Regions from separate parts of the Homo sapiens genome. Here regions 1, 2, 4, 5, 6 and 7 are each linked to region 3. The links are contacts of gene promoters, found by promoter capture Hi-C in blood cells and fetal thymus (Javierre and others, 2016). All regions are on one chromosome and are shown on one strand. The core of a region is centred on a gene start or on the middle of the fragment in contact, and the rest is flanking DNA. Distances in the headings are between cores, read along the strand shown. Region 1 has its middle 32 kb from the start of PAXIP1-DT. Region 2 overlaps RBM33 (RNA binding motif protein 33). Region 3 holds the start of BLACE (B cell acute lymphoblastic leukemia expressed). Region 4 overlaps RBM33 (RNA binding motif protein 33). Region 5 has its middle 19 kb from the start of HTR5A-AS1. Region 6 has its middle 15 kb from the start of HTR5A. Region 7 has its middle 14 kb from the start of PAXIP1-DT.

Region 1 (3,071 bases), core at 102-2,601, 330 kb after region 3:
CATCTCAAAAAAAAAAAAGAGAAGTGGATTGGAATATAATCCCAGTATATATTGTGACCCAGCTATGAATAATAATCTTTACACAGCTTTAATAATAAAACACTGAATATTTATTATATAGCTATATTGAGAAGTGAATGGGGGGTGGAGTGAGGGAGGTATAATCTGTCTTCATTTTCCATAGTTAGGAGTCAATAATAAAAGTGAAAAATTGAGAAACAACAGCATAAGCATTCTATTTAAAAATATACAAGTAGGCTGGATGTGGTGGCTCATGCCTGTAATCCGAGCACTTTGAGAGGCCAAGGTGGTGTCAGAGACGTTTGAATCAGAGCAACTCCATCTTGAATAGGAGCTGGGTAAATATATATATGGCCTGGCATGATGGCTCACGCCCATAATTCCAGCACTTCGTGAGGTTGAGGCAGGCAGATAACCTGAAGTCAGGAGTTTGAGACCAGCCTGGCCAACATGGCCAATATAGTGAAACCCCATCTCTACTAAAAATACAAAAATTAGCTGGGCGTGGTGGAAGGCGCCTGTAATCCCAGCTACTTGGGAGGCTGAGGCAGGAGAATCACTTGAACCTGGGAGGCGGAGGTTGCAGTGAGCCAAGATCGTGCCACTGCATTCCAGCCTGGTGGCAGAGCGAGACTCCATCTCAAAAAAAAAAAAAAAAAAAAAAGCAAGATGGAGTTGGTTAAATCAGATGTTTTTTACTGTTATAATATTCTCACTGGTATGAATTTTGGTATTTACAAGTAAATGCCAAAATAAATAATTACTGGAGCTTTTTGGGGTTTTTTGTTGTTGTTGTTTTCTGTTTTGTTTTGTTTTTTACAGATTGTCTTTCAGATAGGGTAGATTGCTGATCTTTATTGTACATCTTGTAGAACTCATTAAGCTTTAATAAAACATTGGTTTAAAAAATCCAAAGTAGGGATTACAAAGCCATCACCTGAAAACAAGCAGACAATTGATTAAGAAACATTATCAGTGTCAAGAAATTGAAGGCCAGATGCGTTGGCTTATGTCTGTAATCCCAGCACTTTGGGAGCCCAAGGCGGGCAGATCACCTGAGGTCAGGAGTTTGAGACCAGCCTGGCCAACATGGTGAAACCCCATCTCTACAAAAAATACAAAAATTAGCCGGCGTGGTAGTGCGCACCTATAATCCCAGCTACTCAGGAGGCTGAGGCAGAAGAATCGGTTGAATCCGAGAGGCGGAGGTTTCAGTGAGCCAAGATCCCACCATTGCACTCCAGCCTGGGGAACAGAGCAAGACTCCATCTCAAAAATAAGAAGAAGAGGAAGAGGAAGAAGAAGAAGAGGAAGAGGAAGAAGAAGAAGAAGAAGAAGAAGAAGAAGAAGAAGAAGAAGAAGAAGAAGAAGAAGAAGAAGAAGAAGAAATTTAAACTGCCTCTGCAAAATTCGTAACAGTGAGAAAATTATGACAGTGAAAAAGATCTGATCTAACCAACTCCATCTTGCCTTTAACCTCCAAACTGCCCTTGGTCATTCCTGAGCTTAGGCCAAGCTAGCTTTGGGAGAAATTGAGTTATGGTTTAAATGCTAATAGCCATTCCCAAAACTAAACCACCTTTGTAAAACTAATGAAAAGCCACCAGGTTAGCAGTGTGAGAGGGGCCTGAATTCTGCTAAGATGTAGACATAATTAACCAATTACCAGCCATTGTTCCAGAGGTCACAAGATTTGTAACTTCTCCAACTACTCCTGTAAATAACGTCACTACTGTAGAACCTAAGATTTGCCTTTTGAGATATCTTTTCAAGCTTTTGCATTTCTGAAGACCAGATGGTCCCACCCGGTCCAGCGACTTCTCTGTGGACCCCACCCAGAAGCAGCCGGCACAGAACGGCCATTTTCCACACCTCTAGGATTGCAACCCCAAACAATCAGCATTGCCCCTAACCCCAGCCCCCTGCCCACCAAACTATCCTTGAAAAACCCTAGCATCTAGATTTTCAGGGAGGCTGATCTGAGTAATAATAAAACCCCAGTCTTCATTTTATTTTATTTTATTTTATTTTTATTTATTTTTATTTTTTATTGATCATTCTTGGGTGATTCTCGCATAGGGGGATTTGGCAGGGTCATAGGACAATAGTGGAGGGAAGGTCAGCAGATAAACAAGTGAACAAAGGTCTCTGGTTTTCCTAGGCAGAGGACCCTGCGGCCTACCGCAGTGTTTGTGTCCCTGGGTACTTGAGATTAGGGAGTGGTGATGACTCTTAACGAGCATGCTGCCTTCAAGCATCTGTTTAACAAAGCACATCTTGCACCGCCCTTAATCCATTTAACCCTGAGTGGACACAGCACATGTTTCAGAGAGCACCGGGTTGGGGGTAAGGTCATAGATCAACAGCATCCCAAGGCAGAAGAATTTTTCTTAGTACAGAACAAAATGGAGTCTCCTATGTCTACTTCTTTCTACACAGACACAGCAACAATCTGATTTCTCTATCTTTTCCCCACATTTCCCCCTTTTCTATTCGACAAAACTGCCATCGTCATCGTGGCCCATTCTAAATGAGCTGTTGGGTACACCTCCCAGACGGGGTGGCGGCCGGGCAGAGGGGCTCCTCACTTCCCAGAAGGGGCGGCCGGGCAGAGGCACCCCCCACCTCCCTCCCGGACGGGGAGGCTGGCCGGGCGGGGGCTGCCCCCCACCTCCCTCCCGGACAGGGAGGGTGGCTGGCCCAGTCTGCATTTTAAACAGCTCTACGTGTATTAAACTTTTTCTCGATTGCAATTCCCCTGTCTTGATAAATTGGCTTTATCTAGGCAGTGGACAGGATGAACCCACTGGGCAGTTGCATGATTTTTAAATTCTAGCCTTTGCATATAGATACAGTACAAGTCTCCAATATTAACAAGTAGGAATAGCACCAAATGAGAAGATTGGAAAGTCAAGTTACAATCCCAAGGTATGGAAAAATTTATGTAAACTGAAACATACTCTGATGACTATTAGTTGGCAGAAAAGGTACAATTTCACTTTTCCACCCAGCCTAAGCTCTATGTTTAGGTGGAATTAGTGGCTGACATC
Region 2 (2,993 bases), core at 393-2,892, 340 kb before region 3:
CACCAACAACCTCCTGACCTGTACTTTGAGCCCAAACCCCTATACTGAATTCTCATCCAACTGCCTACTAGACCCCTCCACTCACATGGCTAGTTGGCATCTCAAATTTAATGCACCCAAAACAGAACTTTTGATCTCCCCACCTCAGGTGATGGCAACCAGACCAGCCCTCTAAATGCTCTGGTCACCTGGGCATCACTCTTACCTCCTCTCTCCCTCTCACACTCATCCAATCCATCAGCAAATCCCATCGGCCCCATCTTCCTACTTCATCCAGCTCTGAGCTCTCTGCACTCTCCCTGCTACCACACTGGTTTGCACCAGGATCATCTGTCACCTCCTAGCTAGACACCAGCTTCCACCCTTGCCACCCGACAGTCTCCTCTCAACACGGCAGCAAGAGGAATCTTCTAAAACATACACAAGGTCACGTCATTCCTCTGCTCAAACCCCTCTAATCCCTGCCCATTTCACTCCCTGCCAAAGTCCTGAGAATGGCTGGATGGCCCCACGGCCCCACGGTACCCAGGTTCTGCATTTCTTCTCTGCTTTGATCACTCCACAAAAGTCACGCTGGTCTCCTTTTGGCTACTCAAACACACAAGGCAGGGTCTCTCCTGGAGGAAGCCCCCTTATACTTGCTGATCACTCTGCCTGCAATCTTCTTCCCTGAACAGCCACATTGCTAACTTACAGATATCCCTCAACTCTTTCCTGCTCAGTGAAGTTCACCCTGATCACCCCATTTAAGATACAACCCATCCCTTCCCCGCATCCTGCTCAATTTCTCACTGCATTTTCATCTTCTAACATGCCACATAAAATACTTATGTTTACTGCTAATAAACAATAATAAGACTGTCTGATAGAAAGTAATATCATGGTTGAAGAAAGCTTTGTCTGGTTTGTTCGTCAATATAACTCAAATGCCAAAAATAGAGTAGTAGCTCAATAAATGTGTGTGTTCACAGGTACATGAAGTTAAAGCTTCGTATAAACTGCTCAAAAACCGTTTCCTAGCTTAAGGAACATGTTTCAGTAATAATCAGATCTGTATTTATTTGATTACAACAACTAAAAGATGGTGTGTCCCCTCTCCACCAGCTGACACTGGAATTGAAGGGGGGCATGCTGCCTGGAACCAAAGAGGGACACTCACCACTGCAAACATCCTCACCGGGAGACTTACAAAGTGTCACAGTTCAGGCATTCCAATAGCGGTCTCTAGTGTATTCTTTGCATTCAGACTGTACTCTCAGCACTTTCCACTCAATTATACAATAAGAGATACACATTTTTAAAGAAATATACTTGACCCATCAAACTAAAATCTAAATGAATGGGGAAGAGCCAAGGAAAACTCAATCTTACAAATTTGAATGTGAAAACTATTTTGCCGCAGAGACGGCTTCAGTGCAATAAACTAATAAATGCCTTCAGATGCACAGTAATCTATAACATAACAGATGCTCCTCAACATAGGATGGGGTTACATCCCAATAAGGCTATCGTTAGTGGAAAAGACCCTTAGTCAAAATGCATTTAATATGCCCAACCAATGAAACATCATAGCTTAGCCTCACCTACCTTCAGCTCAGAACACTCACATCATTGCACAGTTGGCAAAATCATCGGGGCTGGGAACCGCAGCTCCCCCTGCCCAGCTTCGAGGGAGTTTTGGGATGCATGTTGCTACCCCAGGAGAGATCAAATCTCAACATTCGAACGATGATTTCTTCTGAACGCATACTGCTTTCACACACTCATGAAGTCAAAAACGCGTCAGTGGAAAAATCCTAAGTCAAACCATTGGAAGCTGGGGCCATCTATGCTTTACAATAGTAAAAGGAAACACAGACCTTGAACAGGCGTGACCACCGTCCCTTTGAAGTGCGGGTTGATGTGTATGTTCTTGGGCTGCTGTGGAGTCACGGGTGGCGGGGTCATCATCATCCTTGGGGTCTCTAGCTGGGGAGGCATGTGCATTCCCTGAGGCGGGGATGGGTGGTGCGGGTGCTGCACCGGAAGCAGCGGCTGCAGCGGCTGCGGCTGGAACAGGCTTCTGATCGGCTGCTGCTGAGGCGGCGGTGGCGGTGGAGGGGGAGCCTGGGGCTGTGGAGGAATTAACCTTGGAGAATGAGTCTACAAATCACAAAAAAAAAAACAAAAGTTCACCGAAATCAACATTTAAAAGAATGCTGATGTGTTACAAATTTACACTGATTGCATTTTTTAAGTTACAATGTAAGAAGTCTGTAGTAACAACTTGTATCAAAACAGCAGGATAAAGAAGCTTCTCTACTTCTTCACAATGAGGGCTACAGTCTCACAATTGAGTCAATCCCCACGCAAGAGGGAAAACAGCCCCAAAGCACCCAGTGTGAATTTTGAAAAAAAAAAAAAAAATTCAGTTCAGGGAATTGAACTGCCCACACTGAGCAAAGCCCTGTGCCAGGGACAGAAGAGCAGCTGCCACAGCCCTCCCTGTAGCAGCCTTGCATCCCCCTCCAGGAACTCTGGTAAGCAAGGCAGGAGATGTGCACCAGTTACCCTGCTCCAGAACTGAGGCCTGAGAACAGGACAGGGCCACAAAGAGCCTCCAGGAGAGGCTGGGAGGGAGCTTCTCTGAGAGGGTGACACCTGAACTCGGTGATGAAGAAGAGAGAGGTGCAAGGCAGAGTGAGGGACAGATACCCAGAAAAAAGCAGAAGCAGCACAGACCCACCTGCTTAGTAAAATCAGGAGACCAGGGAAGAAGGCAGGAAAGAAGGTAAGAAAATTACACACTCAAAGTGATCAGAGATCTCAATTCGAGGGTGGTTATTTTATCAAACAGTCACTAGAGAGGAAGAAATCAACAACTGCAACAGCTGCCGTGGACTAAATCTTCCCCACATTTTAAGTTCCTACTATACGGTCAGTAGAGAAAGTCAGCTGACCTAGCTCCCCACAATCCTATAAACTAGGTCCTATTTACTGACCTCCTTTTACAA
Region 3 (2,962 bases), core at 88-2,587:
TCTTGACACACCTTAGGGGCTTCAGGGCCACACTGCCTGGCACAGCTGGTTCCCAGTGTGGACCTGTCTCCACTGCCAGCCCCTGCCCCACCCTCTCCACCTGAGTCCTGATCCCTGGTGACCAAGAGAGGCTGTGCTGCTTCTGGCCTTCACAGTAAGCCAGATGGCCTGGGAAGCGAGACTCTCTCTGCCTCCCAGCACTCCAGGCTGCAGTTGCTGTTTCATCATCCATGGGTGTAAAACACCAAGCAAGTGACATGATACAGAATGACCTCCCTGTGCTGGCAGTGGCACCACAGAAACAGGAAGACTCAGAGCCAGAAGCTGCCTGCGCAGATTGCCATTATGGAGCCTGGGAAATCAAGTCCTAGAAAGATTATCTGTTTTTTTTTTTTTTTTTGAGATAGGAGCTTGCTCTGTCGCCCAGGCTGGAGTGCAGTGGTGTGATCACTGCTCACTGCAGCCTCTGCCTTCTGGGCTCAAGCAATCCTCTAGCTTCATCCTCCCAAGTAGCTGGGACTACAGGCATGCGCCGCCATGCTTGGCTAATTTTTTAAACTTCTTGTAGAGACAAGGTCTCACTATGTTGCCCTGGTTGGTCTTGAACTCCTTGGCTCCAGTGATCCGCCTGCCTCCAGTGATCCTCCCACCTCGGCCTCCCAAAGTGCTGGGATTACAGGCATGAGCCACTGTACCTGTCCTAGAAAGATTAAAGGATACCTCTACGTCTACCTCTACCTCTACCTCTACCTCTACCTCTACCTCTACCTCTACCTCTAACCTCTAACCTCTAACCTCTAACCTCTACCTCTACCTCTACCTCTACCTCTCCCCACGGTCTCCTTCCACGGTCTCCCTCTGATGCCGAGCCGAAGCTGGACTGTACTGCTGCGATCTCGGCTCACTGCAACCTCCCTGCCTGATTCTCCTGCCTCAGCCTGCCGAGTGCCTGTGATTGCAGGCACGCGCCGCCACGCCTGACTGGTTTTCGTTTTTTTTTGGTGGAGACGGGGTTTCGCTGTGTTGGCCGGGCTGGTCTCCAGCTCCTAACCGCGAGTGATCCGCCAGCCTCGGCCTTCCGAGGTGCTGGGATTGCAGACGGAGTCTCGTTCACTCAGTGCTCAATGGTGCCCAGGCTGGAGTGCAGCGGCGTGATCTCGGCTCACTACAACCTACACCTCCCAGCCGCCTGCCTTGGCCTCCCAAAGAGCCGAGATTGCAGCCTCTGCCCGGCCGCCACCCCGTCTGGAAAGTGAGGAGCGTCTCTGCCTGGCCGCCCATCGTCTGAGAGGTGGGGAGCACCTCTGCCTGGCAACCACCCCGTCTGAGAAGTGAGGAGCCCCTCCGTCCAGCAGCCACCCCGTCTGGGAAGTGAGGAGCGTCTCCGCCCGGCAGCCACCCCGTCCGGGGGGGAGGTGGGGGGGGTCAGCCCCCCGCCCGGCCAGCCGCCCCGTCCGGGAGGTGAGGGGCTCCTCTGCCCGGCCGCCCCTACTGGGAAGTGAGGAGCCCCTCTGCCCGGCCAGTCGCCCCGTCCAGGAGGGAGGTGGGGGGGTCAGCCCCCCGCCCGGCCAGCCACCCAGTCCGGGAGGGGGGAGGGGGGTCAGCCCCCTGCCCGGCCAGCCGCCCCGTCCGGGAGGGAGGTGGGGGGATCAGCCCCCCGCCTGGCCAGCCGCCCCGTCCGGGAGGTGAGGGGCGCCTCTACCCGGCCGCCCCTACTGGGAAGTGAGGACTCCTCTGCCCGGCCAGCCGCCCCGTCCGGGAGGGAGGTGGGGGGTCAGCCCCCCGCCCGGCCAGCCGCCCCGTCCGGGAGGGAGGTGGGGGGATCAGCCCCCCGCCTGGCCAGCCGCCCCGTCCGGGAGGTGAGGGGCGCCTCTGCCCGGCTGCCCCTACTGGGAAGTGAGGAGCCCCTCTGCCCGGCCAGCCGCCTCGTCCGGGAGGGAGGTGGGGGGTCAGCCCCCCGCCCGGCCAGCCGCCCCGTCCGGGAGGGAGGTGGGGGGATCAGCCCCCCGCCCGGCCAGCCACCCCGTCCGGGAGGTGAGGGGCGCCTCTGCCCGGCCGCCCCTACTGGGAAGTGAGGAGCCCCTCTGCCCGGCCAGCCGCCCCGTCCGGGAGGGAGGTGGGGGGTCAGCCCCCCGCCCGGCCAGCCGCCCCGTCCGGGAGGGAGGTGGGGGGATCAGCCCCCCGCCCGGCCAGCCGCCCCGTCCGGGAGGTGAGGGGCGCCTCTGCCCGGCCGCCCCTACTGGGAAGTGAGGAGCCCCTCTGCCCGGCCAGCCGCCCCGTCCGGGAGGGAGGTGGGGGGGTCAGCCCCCCGCCCGGCCAGCCGCCCCGTCCGGGAGGTGAGGGGCGCCTCTGCCCGGCCGCCCCTACTGGGAAGTGAGGAGCCCCTCTGCCCGGCCAGCCGCCCCGTCCGGGAGGGAGGTGGGGGGGTCAGCCCCCCGCCCGGCCAGCCGCCCCGTCCGGGAGGTGAGGGGCGCCTCTGCCCGGCCGCCCCTACTGGGAAGTGAGGAGCCCCTCTGCCCGGCCAGCCGCCCCGTCCGGGAGGGAGGTGGCGGGGGTCAGCCCCCCGCCCGGCCAGCCGCCCCGTCCGGGAGGTGAGGGGCGCTTCTGCCCGGCCGCCCCTACTGGGAAGTGAGGAGCCCCTCTGCCCGGCCACGACCCCGTCTGGGAGGTGTGCCCAGCGGCTCATTGGGGATGGGCCATGATGACAATGGCGGCTTTGTGGAATAGAAAGGCGGGAAGGGTGGGGAAAAAATTGAGAAATCGGATGGTTGCCGGGTCTGTGTGGATAGAAGTAGACATGGGAGACTTTTCATTTTGTTCTGTACTAAGAAAAATTCTTCTGCCTTGGGATCCTGTTGATCTATGACCTTACCCCCAACCCCATGCTCTCTGAAACATGTGCTGTGTCCACTCAGGGTTAAATGGATTAAGGGCGGTGCAAGATGTGCTTTGTTAAACAGAT
Region 4 (2,965 bases), core at 347-2,846, 370 kb before region 3:
AGCCACTGGTAAAGGGAAAGTGACTACCACCCAAAAGTATTTTCTAAAGTTACGTGTCTATTAATTCCTGTCTATTGCTATAGAAATATCTAGATACAAGAAAGATGCTTAAGTAAATATTAACACAGTCTTTGAGACACAAAAGGAGTATCTTATCAATTCTTGTAGTCAAGAAAACAAATCACCTGAGTGTTTTTTAAAACATGGATTCACTTCAGAACTATGTACTACACATTTTATAAACAGAAATCAGAACTGGAAAATATTCTAACCTACATATTATGCCCCTCAAGTCCTGTAAGTTAAAAGGCCTCCCAGGAAGACACAGGGAAGACACCCCTTGACACTTACATGCCGGAGCCCCTGGCGCTGGGGGCACTGCATCCGGCTGCTGCTGGCCTGAGGCTGAGCGGTCTGTACGTGAGGCCGGAACTGTGGCTGAGACATCGGCATCAAAGGAGGGGGCGGGACGGACAGGTGGTGGTGGTGGTGGTGGTGCTGGTGCTGCGGCGGGTGCTGTGGTGGGTGCTGGGGTGGGGGCTGGTGCTGGGGCGGGGGCTGGTGCGGGGGCTGGTGCGGAGGCTGGTGCTGTGGCGGGGGCTGTTGCTGAGGTTGCTGAGGCTGAGGCTGATGCGGAGGGGGCAATGGAGGATGCAACGGCCCCTTCCATTTCCAAAGAAAGAGAAACAACAGTTCATAAATGGTTACACCGGGCATAATCACTTCAATCATTTCCTAAAAAACCTCAACACAAGAAAGGAACTTTCAGCGATACCAAAACTTCATTTTAGACTTGCTGATGAAGGTAATACTATCTAAAATGCAGTAATAAGCCAGAAGCTATTACCTTAAATTTTATATTTAATCCAGTAATTCTAGGATTGAATTGTCCTAAGGAAAACTAGGTATGCAGACAAACTCATAACTCTAAAGCATGTTCCCTGTAGCACTATGATACTAAAGTACTGAAACCAGTATACACACATGCAACCACACAGACAGCATGAAAGGGAACCGCATACAGCACTCTCAAACGATGGCATCAAAACCAACTCGCTGACATGAAAAGATCAAATGATATGTGACACTGGAGGGAAAAAGCAGGTGGCGAGAAGATGTGCATTTAAAAAAAGACAAAAAAAAAAGCTCCTGAATTGTTTCTAGGTAACGAGAGTATTTAATTTCCTTTCTTATATATACTTGAAAATTTCTGCAATGGGGATGTATTAATTGCATTTTTTTAATAAAAAGAAAAATTCTTAAAAACATTTTATCTTCCTTTAACACCCTAGATAATATTCATTTTCCGTTTTTGGCTTAGATACGTATTCCACGTATTTTTAAATAGTTGATTCAAGTTTACCATCGCTATGTATTTTAATAGTAACCCTACAATACAAGAAGAAATATACACTTGGTAAGAAAGATGTTACAGACGCATGTCAACCCATGAAGCAGAAGCCGATGGGCAGAGGGCACTCAAGGCCTTCAAATAACCAGTGAAAACCCATGAAGCAGAAGCCGGTCGGCAGAGGGCACTCAAGGCCTTCAAATAACCAGTGAACAGCAACATCTTCTTCCCTCCATGCAAAGACTCTTTTCAAAACTGTCTACTGCAGGAATATAATTTGACAAAGTATTTCCACTGGTAAACCTCTCATGAAATTTTATACAGATGAGCAAATGTATTATCAAAACATGTCCTAATTTTATTAGTAGTATACCCTTTAAACAATTATAATAAGTAGCATTTTTCAATTCCCAAAAAATGACATTTTCCCATTTTTTTCTTGTATTGAGATAAGTAACATTGTTGAAAAAAGTTGTCTTTAACAAACAGTACATTTGAGACTAATACTCTATTCTTTAAATAACCACAAATTAGTAGGCTCAAATAAAAATCTGAAACTTTATGGAACACAAAGCCTTGAAGCTACACATTTTTTCCCTGGAGGTTCACTCAGGATGCATTACCTGCAGGTTGGGCTGTGTGTGTGTGGGCAGAAACGGCTGTCCTGGGCCTGGCAGGAACGGCTGTCTAGGAGGAATGAAGGGCCGTGTGGTTGCCGACCCAGGCTGGCTAAAGTGCAGAATCCCCACCGGACCTGGAGGCTGCAAGGCTGGTCGTACGGGCCGCTCTCTTGGGAACACTGGCTGCTGTCCTTGCTGATTAAATGCTGGTCCTGGCTGAGTGAATGGTAGAGGACTCTGAGTAGGAACAGGATGGCTACTGTTAAGAAGGGTAGGAGGCGGTGGTGGTGGAGGGGGACTTCGCTGTTCCAGAAAAAGATGGCTCGGGAATCTTGGTTCACCTGAAACTGAAAGGTAACACAACATCATTAACTTCAGGTTAAAAAGACCATGTGCTTCTCAGAAAAGCAGTCTGAAGCACTATCCTACTGTGGACAGAAGTCACAAGTGTTGACAGGTTATGAATGTTGGAAACAATTCCAGATTTTGCCTCTTATTTCTAGATTGCTTCATTTGTCATTTTCTATACATAAATTCCCTTTTATATGAGATGTTCCGATTTCAGATACCAACAATGTCCAATTTTAGCACCTGAAATGACAGGCAGAACTGCTATGGTACAAAAACCTGGCATTCCTAACATCTCCAACTGGGAGTTCAATTCAGTTTACAAAATAAATGTGTTTGGGCACATCACCCAATGCAGCTTCTGTTGTTACTCCACACCACTCACTCTTTCTGTACCTCCTAAGAAGAAAGGGTCTCGATCCTGAGGCGGGGGTGGGGCTCTCCACTGGTCCTGGAGAGGGAGTCGTGGGGGCTGGCTGAAACTGTTGGGAACAGGTCCAGGTGTATGCTGTGGAAATTCTGGAGGGCCCTAAAGAACAACAACAACAACAGAGAAACAGGGTGAAGGACAGAAAAATGGTATGTAATTTTTAGAAATATAGACCTGGTTCCAAGTTTTCCTCAAAAATGTCAAGTAACGTGTCTC
Region 5 (2,888 bases), core at 225-2,724, 280 kb after region 3:
AAAATAATAAGGGAACATACTGGTGTCAATGGTGTGGGTTATCATTGCTGCCAGGCCAGGGGAGTCTTTTTACGCTTTGTTTGTTTTGCCTGTCTTCCTTTTCCTGTAGGCCAATTGTAGGAATAACTTTACCAAGTGGGAAAAACATCCAACTATCTTAAGGAGCAGGAAGGATGAAGAAAGCGAAGTGAGAGTCAGGCCCTTTTATTTAACTCCATCCCCCCATCTTCATCCCATCGTCTTCACTCCTAGACCAAGGACCCATTGCACCTTAACGGTGCTGGGACAGGACAGAGGCACCCTCGGTGAGGTGACAGTGAGCCCGTCGGTGGCCAAACAGGAAGCTGGGGGCTCATCTGTCTTTGTAAATCAGACCACCTCCTCTTTCATCTACGTGGAAACTGACTTGTCGCATGTTGGGAAGGTAACAAACCAATGGGGCACCGACTCTCTTCCCTTCTAACCCCCGAAGTTCAGTTTCCAACTGAGCTGAAGGTGGAGATGGGATCACTGGAGCAGCTGTTGCTGTAAATGCCACAGTCTCAAAGTTTGTTCACCTGCACACAGAGGGCTCGATATTCTTCCTTCCTGCTAACAGAAACCTTTGGGATACAGCCTGAGGTGATAGCTCTGTGCACAAAATATGACTCACTCAGTGAGTTGTGGGGGAGGAAGCCTCAAATTAGGTGGCTTCCGGGGTCTCAGCAGCTGTGGGCAGGGCCCTTCACATTAGGTGATGTGTAAAGGCCTTGTAATGAGTTGTACCTTCCACTCCTGAGTCAGGAAAGCTCCTGTTATGCCATAGGCTGAGACATGCGGGGCTGTGCCACTTAGGCCTCATTTTGATGATGACCCCTGGCTGATTTGTTTGCAGCTTTGTTATTACTACTGAATGTTTGATTAATGGAAATCTTCTGTATGCATACATACATATGTGTATATGTGTATGTGTGTGTGTGTGCATGTATACACACACACACACTCTCTTCCTTTTAACCAGGGAGAGACACCCAGGTTAGTGGCACCAAATAGGGGAGCAGGAGTGGCACCAAAGAGTGGAGCAGGAAGGAATGAGAGAAGCAGTCTGTTTCCATGTGGCCACTAATGCTTTGTGTGTCTGTGCTCCAGGCAGCAGCCTGATCCAGGGTAGGCAGCCAAGGGCTGAGTTCCTCCTGCCTTGCCCTCCCACCCATCACACATGTTGGCGAAAACTCTCAGCAAATAGAGTTCCAAGTGCTCTCCAGATACATGAATTGAGTTTTTATAAACAGAAGTGTATTTTAAATCTGCTACCTTAGTACTAAAGTGATGCCTTATAATTTGATGAATTATATTTGTGTATTAAATTAAATTAACCCAGTTTATATAAATCCATATCTAGTTTGCATGAAACAGAATATAGCAAAATGGAATTCTATATCCTTTCTTTTGTATTGAATTTATCCTCTCTTTTTAGTATTAGATTCGAGTTTCATATTTAGTTTGTTTTACATTAAAACAGCAATAATCCTTCGTTATCTGATAGTTTCTGTGATTTAGAAATTTGGGAGTGGCTTAGTTGGGTTCTGACTCGGGATCTCCCATGTAGTCAAGTGTAGTCAAGACACCAGCTGGGGCTGCAGTCATCTGAAGGTTTGACTGAGGCTGGAAGACTCGCTTCCAAGATGAAGCACTCAATGGCTGGCAAGTTACAGACTCACTTCAATTTGCTGCCGTGTTTCTCCTCAGCTCAATATCCCCTCCTCATCCTTTTTTTCTCATGCAAAGCCCCATTCCCCCTCAGCCTATTCTTACCACATGTAGATGTCATTCTAAATACCCAAGATGACCCCCAGGAAGACATCTGTTTGTTATCAAAATTCTTACTATTTTAATTTGAAGTATTTCCATTTAAGGTTCTAAGCACAAGAACCAAGAGAGGTTTTTTTATTTAAATCTTCACAACTATGGGGCTTGCCAAATGTCAAATTCTGTCCCAAATTCTAGCTCCCACCCATTCCTAGTTAATTACTGGGAATGTTAATTGTAGTTAATTCCAGCTCCCACCCGTTCCTAGTTAATTACTAGGAATGTTAATTCTAGTTAATTCCAGCTCCCACCCATTCCTAGCTAATTACTAGGGTAATTAACATTGGTCATTTAAAAATTGCTTCCCTTCAGCAGGGCACGGTGGCTCATGCCTGTAATCCCAGCACTTAGAGAGGCCGAGGTGGGCGGATCACAAGGTCAGGAGATCGAGACCATCCTGGCTAACACGGTGAAACCCTGTGTCTACTAAAAATACAAAAAAAAATCCGGACATGGTGGCGGGCGCCTGTAGTCTCAGCTACTCGGCAGGCTGAGGTGGGAGAATTGCTTGAACCTGGGAGGTGGTGGAGGTTGCAGTGAGCCGAGGTCACGCCATTGCACTCCAGCCTGGGCAACAGAGCGAGACTCTGTCTCAAAAAAAAAAAAAGAAAGAAGAAGTTGAGTGTAGCCTTAGTGAACATTGTTTACAAAGTCTGCGGTAGTGTACAGGAATGTCCTAGGTGTCCTAGGTCCTCACATTCACTCTCCACTCACTCCCTCGCTGATTCACCTGGAGCTACTTCCACTGCAGCAAGCTCCATTCATGGCAAGTACCCTGTACAGGTGCACCATTTTCAATCATTTTTTACTGTACCTTTTCTACATTTAGATATGTTTAGATACACAAACCCATTACCATCGTGTTACAGCTGCCTACAGCATTCAGTACAGTAACAGCCTTCACAGGTGTGCAGCCTAGGACCACGAGGCTACACCGAACAGCCTCACATGTATAGCGGGCTGTCCCCTCTAGATGTGTGTAAGTGCACTCTGCGACGTTTGCATAATGTCGAAATTGCCTAATGATGCATTTCTCAGCA
Region 6 (3,078 bases), core at 37-2,536, 310 kb after region 3:
ACTTCGCAGATGAGTGAGCTGATGTGGATATTCTGCAGCTGATTAAGCATCTTTATTCTAAGCAGTCAGTAACGGGACGGGAGCAGCCACGATTTGAGTCCGTGTGCTCACTGGGCCTGTAGCAGGATGGACTTGGGCCAAGATTCCAACCTCCATAATCCCCACTCTGACTGGTAGACATGGTGGTAGGAGGAGGCCCCAGAGATCCACGTTAGTGCAGATACAGTTTCTTAATTGAGTCACCCTGCCCCAAGCAAATTATGAGACAGAACATTGGGTATAAGTAGTTTGTTTGGGAGGTGATCTCTGAAAGCAGGAGCAGGGAAGCAGAGAGAGTGGGTGTGAGGAAGGAGGAGCCAATAAAAAGACACTGGAGAAGGCCAAGTGCAGTGGCTCATGCTTGTAATCCCAGCACTTTGGGAGGCCGAGGCGGGTGGATCACAAGGTCAGGAGTTCGAGACCAGCCTGGTCAACATAGTGAAACCCTGTCTCTACTAAACATACAAAAATTAGCTAGGTGTGGTGGCAGGTGCCTATAGTCTCAGCTACTTGGGAGGCTGATGCAGGAGAATCACTTGAACCTGGGAGGTGGAGGTTGCAGTGAGCCAAGATCATGTCACTGCACTCCAGCCTGGGTGACAGAGTGAGACTCCATCTCAAAAAAAAAAAAAAAAAAAAAAAAAAAAGACACTGGACAGCTGGTGTCCACTGTGGACAAGCAGGGTGTACTCCCCCTAAAGTCTATCCCTGAAGGGCAAGAGGCCACAACACTCACCCGCTGACTCCTACACCCCATTGGTTGATGTTTGCTCCCAAGGCGTCAGCCTCACCACCCTGCTTCTGGGAGGCTTCTGAGTGCAGGCTAAGTCCTCAGTCCTCATGGTTGCGAAGCAAGCCCTGAGGCAGGAGGGTGGAGAGAGTGCGGAATGCCATGCTGTGGGGTGCATGAAACTGTCCTGCTGAGCCGCAGCTGAGGTCAGAACCGGACCCCAGAGAACGGGAACTTCCCCACAGCCAGTGCCTAAAATGTCCTACAGGGGTGTGCATTTCCCTTGCACACTGGTAAGGGGCCAGGGGTCTCCCTGCAGACATTTGAAGGGAGGTGTGTAGTTTGCAGGTATGGCCACGTTGTGGGGAATTTCCCCAAAGGGGCCCAGCCTTCTCTTCAATCAAGAGGCCCCAGGACTGGGAGCAGGTCCAGTGAGGGGCTTTGAAACTCAGCTGTAGGCTGGGCACAGTGGCTCACGCCTGTAATCCCAGCACTTTGGGAGGCTGAGGTGGGTGGATCACCTGAGATCAGGAGTTTGAGACCAGCCTGGCCAACATGGTGAAACCCCGTCTCTATCAAAAATACAAAAATTAGCCAGGCATGGTGGCGTGCTCCTGTAGTCCCAGCTACTTGGGAGGCTGAGGCAGGAGAATCTCTTGAATGGGGGAGGTAGAGGTTGCACTGAGTCGAGATCATGCCATTGCACTCCAGCCTGGGCGAGAAGGGCAAAACTCCATCAAAAACAAAAACTCAGCTGTGGTAACTTGAGTCTAATTTCTGCCCACCAGACCCAGAAACGTTTTTATTATTATTATTAAAGTTAACGCCTTATTCGATTGCCCATACATTCTATTCCTAAGGTTCCATAATTGACAAGCTACCTCCTGGGACCCTGAGATCAAAATGCTTTGATTTTCTCTTTCCCTAGAGCCTATTACATAAATCTTGTCAACCATGTCTCTGACAGTTGTTTCCTCTCTGGGACCCCATTATTTCCATTCAAAGCAGGAGCCCAATTCAATGTGTCGTTTTTCTTTCATCCTCTCTATCATACATACAACAGCTTCCAACTATTCCAAGGATGGGCTGGGTGCAGTGGCTCACACTTGTAATCTCACACTTTGGGCGGAGACCAGTGGAATGCTTGAGCCCAGGAGTTCAAAACTAGCCTAGGCAATGTGCTGAAACCTTGTATCTACAAAAAATATACACACACAAAAATTAACTAGGCATGGTGATGCGTGTCTGTAGACCCAGCTACTCAGCAGGCAGAGGTGGGAGGATCAATTGACCCTGGGAGGCAGAGGTTGTGGTGAGCCAAGATCACACCGCTGCACTCCAGCCTGGGTAACAGAGCAGGACCCTATCTCAAAAAAAAAAAAAAAAAAAAAAAAAAAACTTTTCAAGGATGTTTCTGTTAACAATGCATTTCTGATTTTTTTTTTTTACTTATCTATTTTGGAAAATTTCAAACACACATAAAACTAAATCGACTGGCATAACACAATTTCACATACTCATCACCATCACATATGGTTCCCTTCAGATGACACATACTCAGGGGCAAGACTCATAACCTATTTTCATATTTGTTCTCTTAATTTTTGGAAAAGTTGCTGGTTTGTGAAAGACTACAGACATTAGGAAGTGACATTTGGCCCTGGGCTCCAGTGGACAGAAAGCCTCTGGTTCTTCTAAGCGCAGATATTGTGATTATATCTAGGACCCATTCTGTTCTTTACTTAGTAATTCTCTTTTCCATATCTCTTCCTTCAAAAACATTTTTTAATTAAAATATACTTTAATATATTTGGTGTCAACACATGAAAACTTTTTAGATAAAAGATTCAAATGAACAGGGTCATGTAGTCCATGGAGACTTGTTCTCATTAATTCTTATCATCTTCTCCCTTGAACAAGGTTCAGGCATATATAACACACACGCTGTGCCCCTGGGAAAGTGAACAGAAACAGTCCTGATGGGGACAAAGCTCCATGTGACATGACCACGAATCTGGGCAAAATTCTCTCCTTCCACAGCCCAGAAGACAGCATTGTCCTAAGACTAGACTCAGTACTACCAAGACACATCACCGATTCTGAGTAATGAGAACACACAGACCCATGGGGGGAACAACTCACACTGGAGCCTGTCAGAGGGTAGGGCGTGGGAGGAGGGAGAGTATGAGGAAGAAGAGCTAATGGATACTGGGCTTAATACCCAGGTGATTGGATGATCTGTGTAGCAAACCACCATGGCACACGTTTACCTATGTAACTAACCTGCACATCCTGCACATGTACCCCAG
Region 7 (3,069 bases), core at 472-2,971, 350 kb after region 3:
GGAGGTGGAGGTTGCAGTGAGCCGAGATCACGCCATTGCACTCCAGCCTGGGCAACAGAGTGATACTCGGTCTCCAAAAAAAAAAAAAAAAAAAAAAAAGAACCGCCCCTCCCCCCAAAATGATTATAACGTTGAAATATCTGCCTTTTTCCTAATAAAAATGGTTTCTATTAATACCTGTGGAAAATGTCCCTAAAATTCCTATATTTATCTTGATAGACATTGAATTACCTGCTTTTAGATTGCTGCTCTTCTTTTATTCCATGAGCTCCACTAAACAATAAGCTTTTATATTGAACATGCGACGAGCACATTTCACTAAGACTTTCTTCATTTTCACCTGTGCTGTGCTAATAAGTCTCAAATTAAACAGCGTCATCCAGTCTCCACAGCTGGCATTGTGCCCCACTGAGTATCGCCAACTGGAAAATGATTATTTGGGGAGGCTTCATAATTACGCTAAGATGAAAATCTTGGCAGCTAGGAGATACTTATTTTTCAAGATTTGAGAGAAAATTTAATGAAAGTGTCACAAATATATTACTTAGGATGATAGTTTGCACTTAATATGAGGCCCCATTTCTCAGTGGATTTCAAAGTCTTGACTAATTAATTAGCCCTAATTCCCTTGTTTGCCTGATGGTCAAGCATTCAGACAGACCTCCTGAGACCGCAGAGTTATCACAGTGAAGCAGGGAGAGTGCTGTACGGGGGTCAAGAGGCTCATTAGTTAGTGAACACCTGTTGGGTTTTAGTCTTTCTTTGTTTCTTCCACTTGCTAGTGTGTGACCTTGGAAAACCTAACACAGGGTCAGCAAACCAAGGCCCAAAGGCTAACTCTGGCCTGCTACCTGGTTTTGTACATAAAGTTTTATTGGAACGCAGTCTTGCTCATTTTTACACAGAGTGTCTGTGGCTGCTTTCACACTGCAATAGCAGAGTTGAGAAGTCACAAGAGAGATTGTATAAACCACAATGCCTAAAATATTTTCTATCTGGGCCTTTACAGAAAAATGTTTGCTGACCCCTGATCTAACCTTCCCAAACGTGTTTCCCCAGCTGTAAAGTATAATGAAATAGAACAAGGAAACCTTATTAGAATAAGTTTTAAATTTGTATTCTGATGATTATCTTTAAAGAGGCCCTAAAAGGTGAAAAATCCCTGGCAGTGATGTTAATTCATTCAAAATGCATCCATCCACTCCTTAAATATTTACTCATCATCCATTTGACATCAGGCCTCATACTAAATATGGAAGAGAATATGTGTTAAGGGAAAATAAAACTTGTTTTAGGCCAGGTGCAGTGGCTTACGCCTGATATCCTAGCACTTTGGGAGGCCAAGGCAGGAGAATGGCTTGAGCTCAGGAGTTCGAGACCAACTTGGGCAACCAGTGGACCCCATTTCCCTTTTAGTTTTTTTGTTTTTTTGTTTGTTTTGTTTTGTTTTGTTTTGAGACAGAGTCTTGCTCTGTCACCCAGACTGGAGTGCAGTGGCACCACCACGGCCCACTGCAACCTTCACCTCCCGGGTTCAAGCGATTCTCCTGCCTCAGCCTCCTGGAGTAGCTGGGATTACAGGCGCCTGCCACTGTGCCTGACTAATTTTTGTATTTTTAGTAGAGACGGGGTTTCACTATGTTGGCCAAGCTGGTCTCAAACTCCTGACCTCAAGTGATCCACCAGCTTCAGCCTCCCAGAGTGCTGGGATTACAGGCATGAGCCACCGTAGCTGGTCTGAGACCCCATTTCTACACAAAATGTAAAAAGTAGCCAGTGGTGTGTACCTGTGGTCCCATCTACTTGGGAGACTGAGGTGGGAAGGTCCCTTGGGTGCTGTGAAGTCGAGGCTGCAGTGAGCTGTGATGGCGCCACTGCACTTTCAGCCTGGGCAACAGAGCAAGACCCTGTCTTAAAAACAAAAACTTGTTTTAGTCTTGGAGGGGTTGGGAGTGGGGTGGTGGTGGTGATGCAATGGCAAAGTATTTTAGAATACAGTCTTTTTGATACTTTAAATATAAGTATTGGGATGAAGGCAAGCTCTCACATTTGAGGCTCCCTCCAGCCTTGTTTGTACTCCTTACCCTGAAAATGGTTCACAGCAGCACCACACCAGACATTATGTTGGGTGAGATGAACTCTCTCACATGTGGTTGAGTTAGTCATCCTTGATCCAAGCCAAAGAGCCGCCAGTTATATAATTCATTTATATTTATGTAAATCACAGTAGAAGAGACCAAAGAAATTCTTTCTCAAGGCATCAGAGATGTTTCATAAAATGGGACATCTAAGGTTGGCCATAGGAAGAGCAGGTGCGATTTGTGCAGGTGCATGAGTGCAGAGGGTTGCTGGTGATGGAACACAGCCATGGCTGCGGTGGGAAAGTTCTGGATGTGTTTGGAGAGTCAAGTGCTGTAGTCTAGTCTGCTAAGAGTGGGAGGACATGGGCCTAGTGTGCTCGGGCTACGGTGTACAAAGGTGGGGTGTATGGTGGAAAGCAACAGCTTAGAGAGTTCTCTGAAAGGCAGGCTAAGGTGACTGAACTTCAGTCTACAAGTGGTGGGAAACTATGGGACATTTTGGAACCAGAGCATTGAGTCAGCATTGTCTAGCTAGTACTTTTTTGGATATTGTGGAACTAGCAGCACTATTTTGCCTGCTATTATACACTGAATAGGGGCAGGCCAGGCACGGTGGCTCACGCCTGTAATCCCAGCACTTTGGGAGGCCGAGGCCGGCAGATCGCTTGAGGTCAGGAGTTTGAGACCAGCCTGGCCAACATGATGAGACCCCGTCTCTACTAAAAATACAAAAATTAGCCAGGCGTGGTGGCACGTGTCTGTACTCTCAGCTACGTGGGAGACTGAGGCAGGAGAATTGCTTGAACCCGGGAGGCGGAGGTTGCAGTGAGCCAAGATTGCAGCACTGCACTCCACCCTGAGTGACAGGGTGAGACCTTGTCTCAATAAAACAAAAAATAAAATAAAAATAAAATAAAATAAACAGAATAAGGGCAGATATTTTCCAAATGGAATCAAATGGAATACCAGTTTTTACTGTCTCAACTTC

The links. The method cuts DNA at HindIII sites, captures the fragments that hold promoters and counts their contacts. A CHiCAGO score of 5 or more calls a contact.
Region 1: a fragment that was not itself captured here is called in contact with the fragment with the promoter of BLACE in region 3 in 2 of 17 cell types (neutrophils and activated CD4 T cells); the score reaches 5.9 in neutrophils.
Region 2: a fragment that was not itself captured here is called in contact with the fragment with the promoter of BLACE in region 3 in 2 of 17 cell types (neutrophils and M0 macrophages); the score reaches 5.5 in neutrophils.
Region 4: a fragment that was not itself captured here is called in contact with the fragment with the promoter of BLACE in region 3 in 6 of 17 cell types (fetal thymus, M0 macrophages, total B cells and 3 more); the score reaches 8.1 in fetal thymus.
Region 5: a fragment that was not itself captured here is called in contact with the fragment with the promoter of BLACE in region 3 in 6 of 17 cell types (naive CD4 T cells, total CD8 T cells, activated CD4 T cells and 3 more); the score reaches 6.9 in naive CD4 T cells.
Region 6: a contact is called between a fragment that was not itself captured here and the fragment with the promoter of BLACE in region 3, in 1 of 17 cell types (neutrophils). The highest score is 5.5, in neutrophils.
Region 7: a contact is called between a fragment that was not itself captured here and the fragment with the promoter of BLACE in region 3, in 8 of 17 cell types (total B cells, activated CD4 T cells, megakaryocytes and 5 more). The highest score is 8.1, in total B cells.

What each region holds. Positions count from the first base shown.
Region 1 is chr7:155,034,294-155,037,364 of GRCh38, reverse strand. No RefSeq gene overlaps it. Among named protein-coding and RNA genes, the nearest start is that of PAXIP1-DT, 32 kb to the right of the region's middle. The HindIII fragment of the contact is 890 bases long and covers 907-1,796 here.
Region 2 is chr7:155,710,322-155,713,314 of GRCh38, reverse strand. RBM33 (RNA binding motif protein 33) reads right to left here. Exons shown (of 18, transcript NM_053043.3): 8 at 1,860-2,112. Among named protein-coding and RNA genes, the nearest start is that of RBM33, 67 kb to the right of the region's middle. The HindIII fragment of the contact is 1,306 bases long and covers 990-2,295 here.
Region 3 is chr7:155,366,308-155,369,269 of GRCh38, reverse strand. BLACE (B cell acute lymphoblastic leukemia expressed) reads left to right here and starts at 1,337. Exons shown (of 6, transcript NR_103545.1): 1 at 1,337-1,461. The region is part of intron 2 of LOC105375593 (a long non-coding RNA gene); the gene reads right to left. The HindIII fragment of the contact is 7,901 bases long and covers 1-2,962 here.
Region 4 is chr7:155,737,413-155,740,377 of GRCh38, reverse strand. RBM33 (RNA binding motif protein 33) reads right to left here. Exons shown (of 18, transcript NM_053043.3): 10 at 2,716-2,848; 11 at 1,975-2,318; 12 at 352-663. Among named protein-coding and RNA genes, the nearest start is that of SHH, 74 kb to the left of the region's middle. The HindIII fragment of the contact is 3,853 bases long and covers 1-2,965 here.
Region 5 is chr7:155,088,648-155,091,535 of GRCh38, reverse strand. No RefSeq gene overlaps it. Among named protein-coding and RNA genes, the nearest start is that of HTR5A-AS1, 19 kb to the right of the region's middle. The HindIII fragment of the contact is 5,653 bases long and covers 1-2,888 here.
Region 6 is chr7:155,054,209-155,057,286 of GRCh38, reverse strand. No RefSeq gene overlaps it. Among named protein-coding and RNA genes, the nearest start is that of HTR5A, 15 kb to the left of the region's middle. The HindIII fragment of the contact is 8,811 bases long and covers 1-3,078 here.
Region 7 is chr7:155,015,817-155,018,885 of GRCh38, reverse strand. No RefSeq gene overlaps it. Among named protein-coding and RNA genes, the nearest start is that of PAXIP1-DT, 14 kb to the right of the region's middle. The HindIII fragment of the contact is 2,868 bases long and covers 288-3,069 here.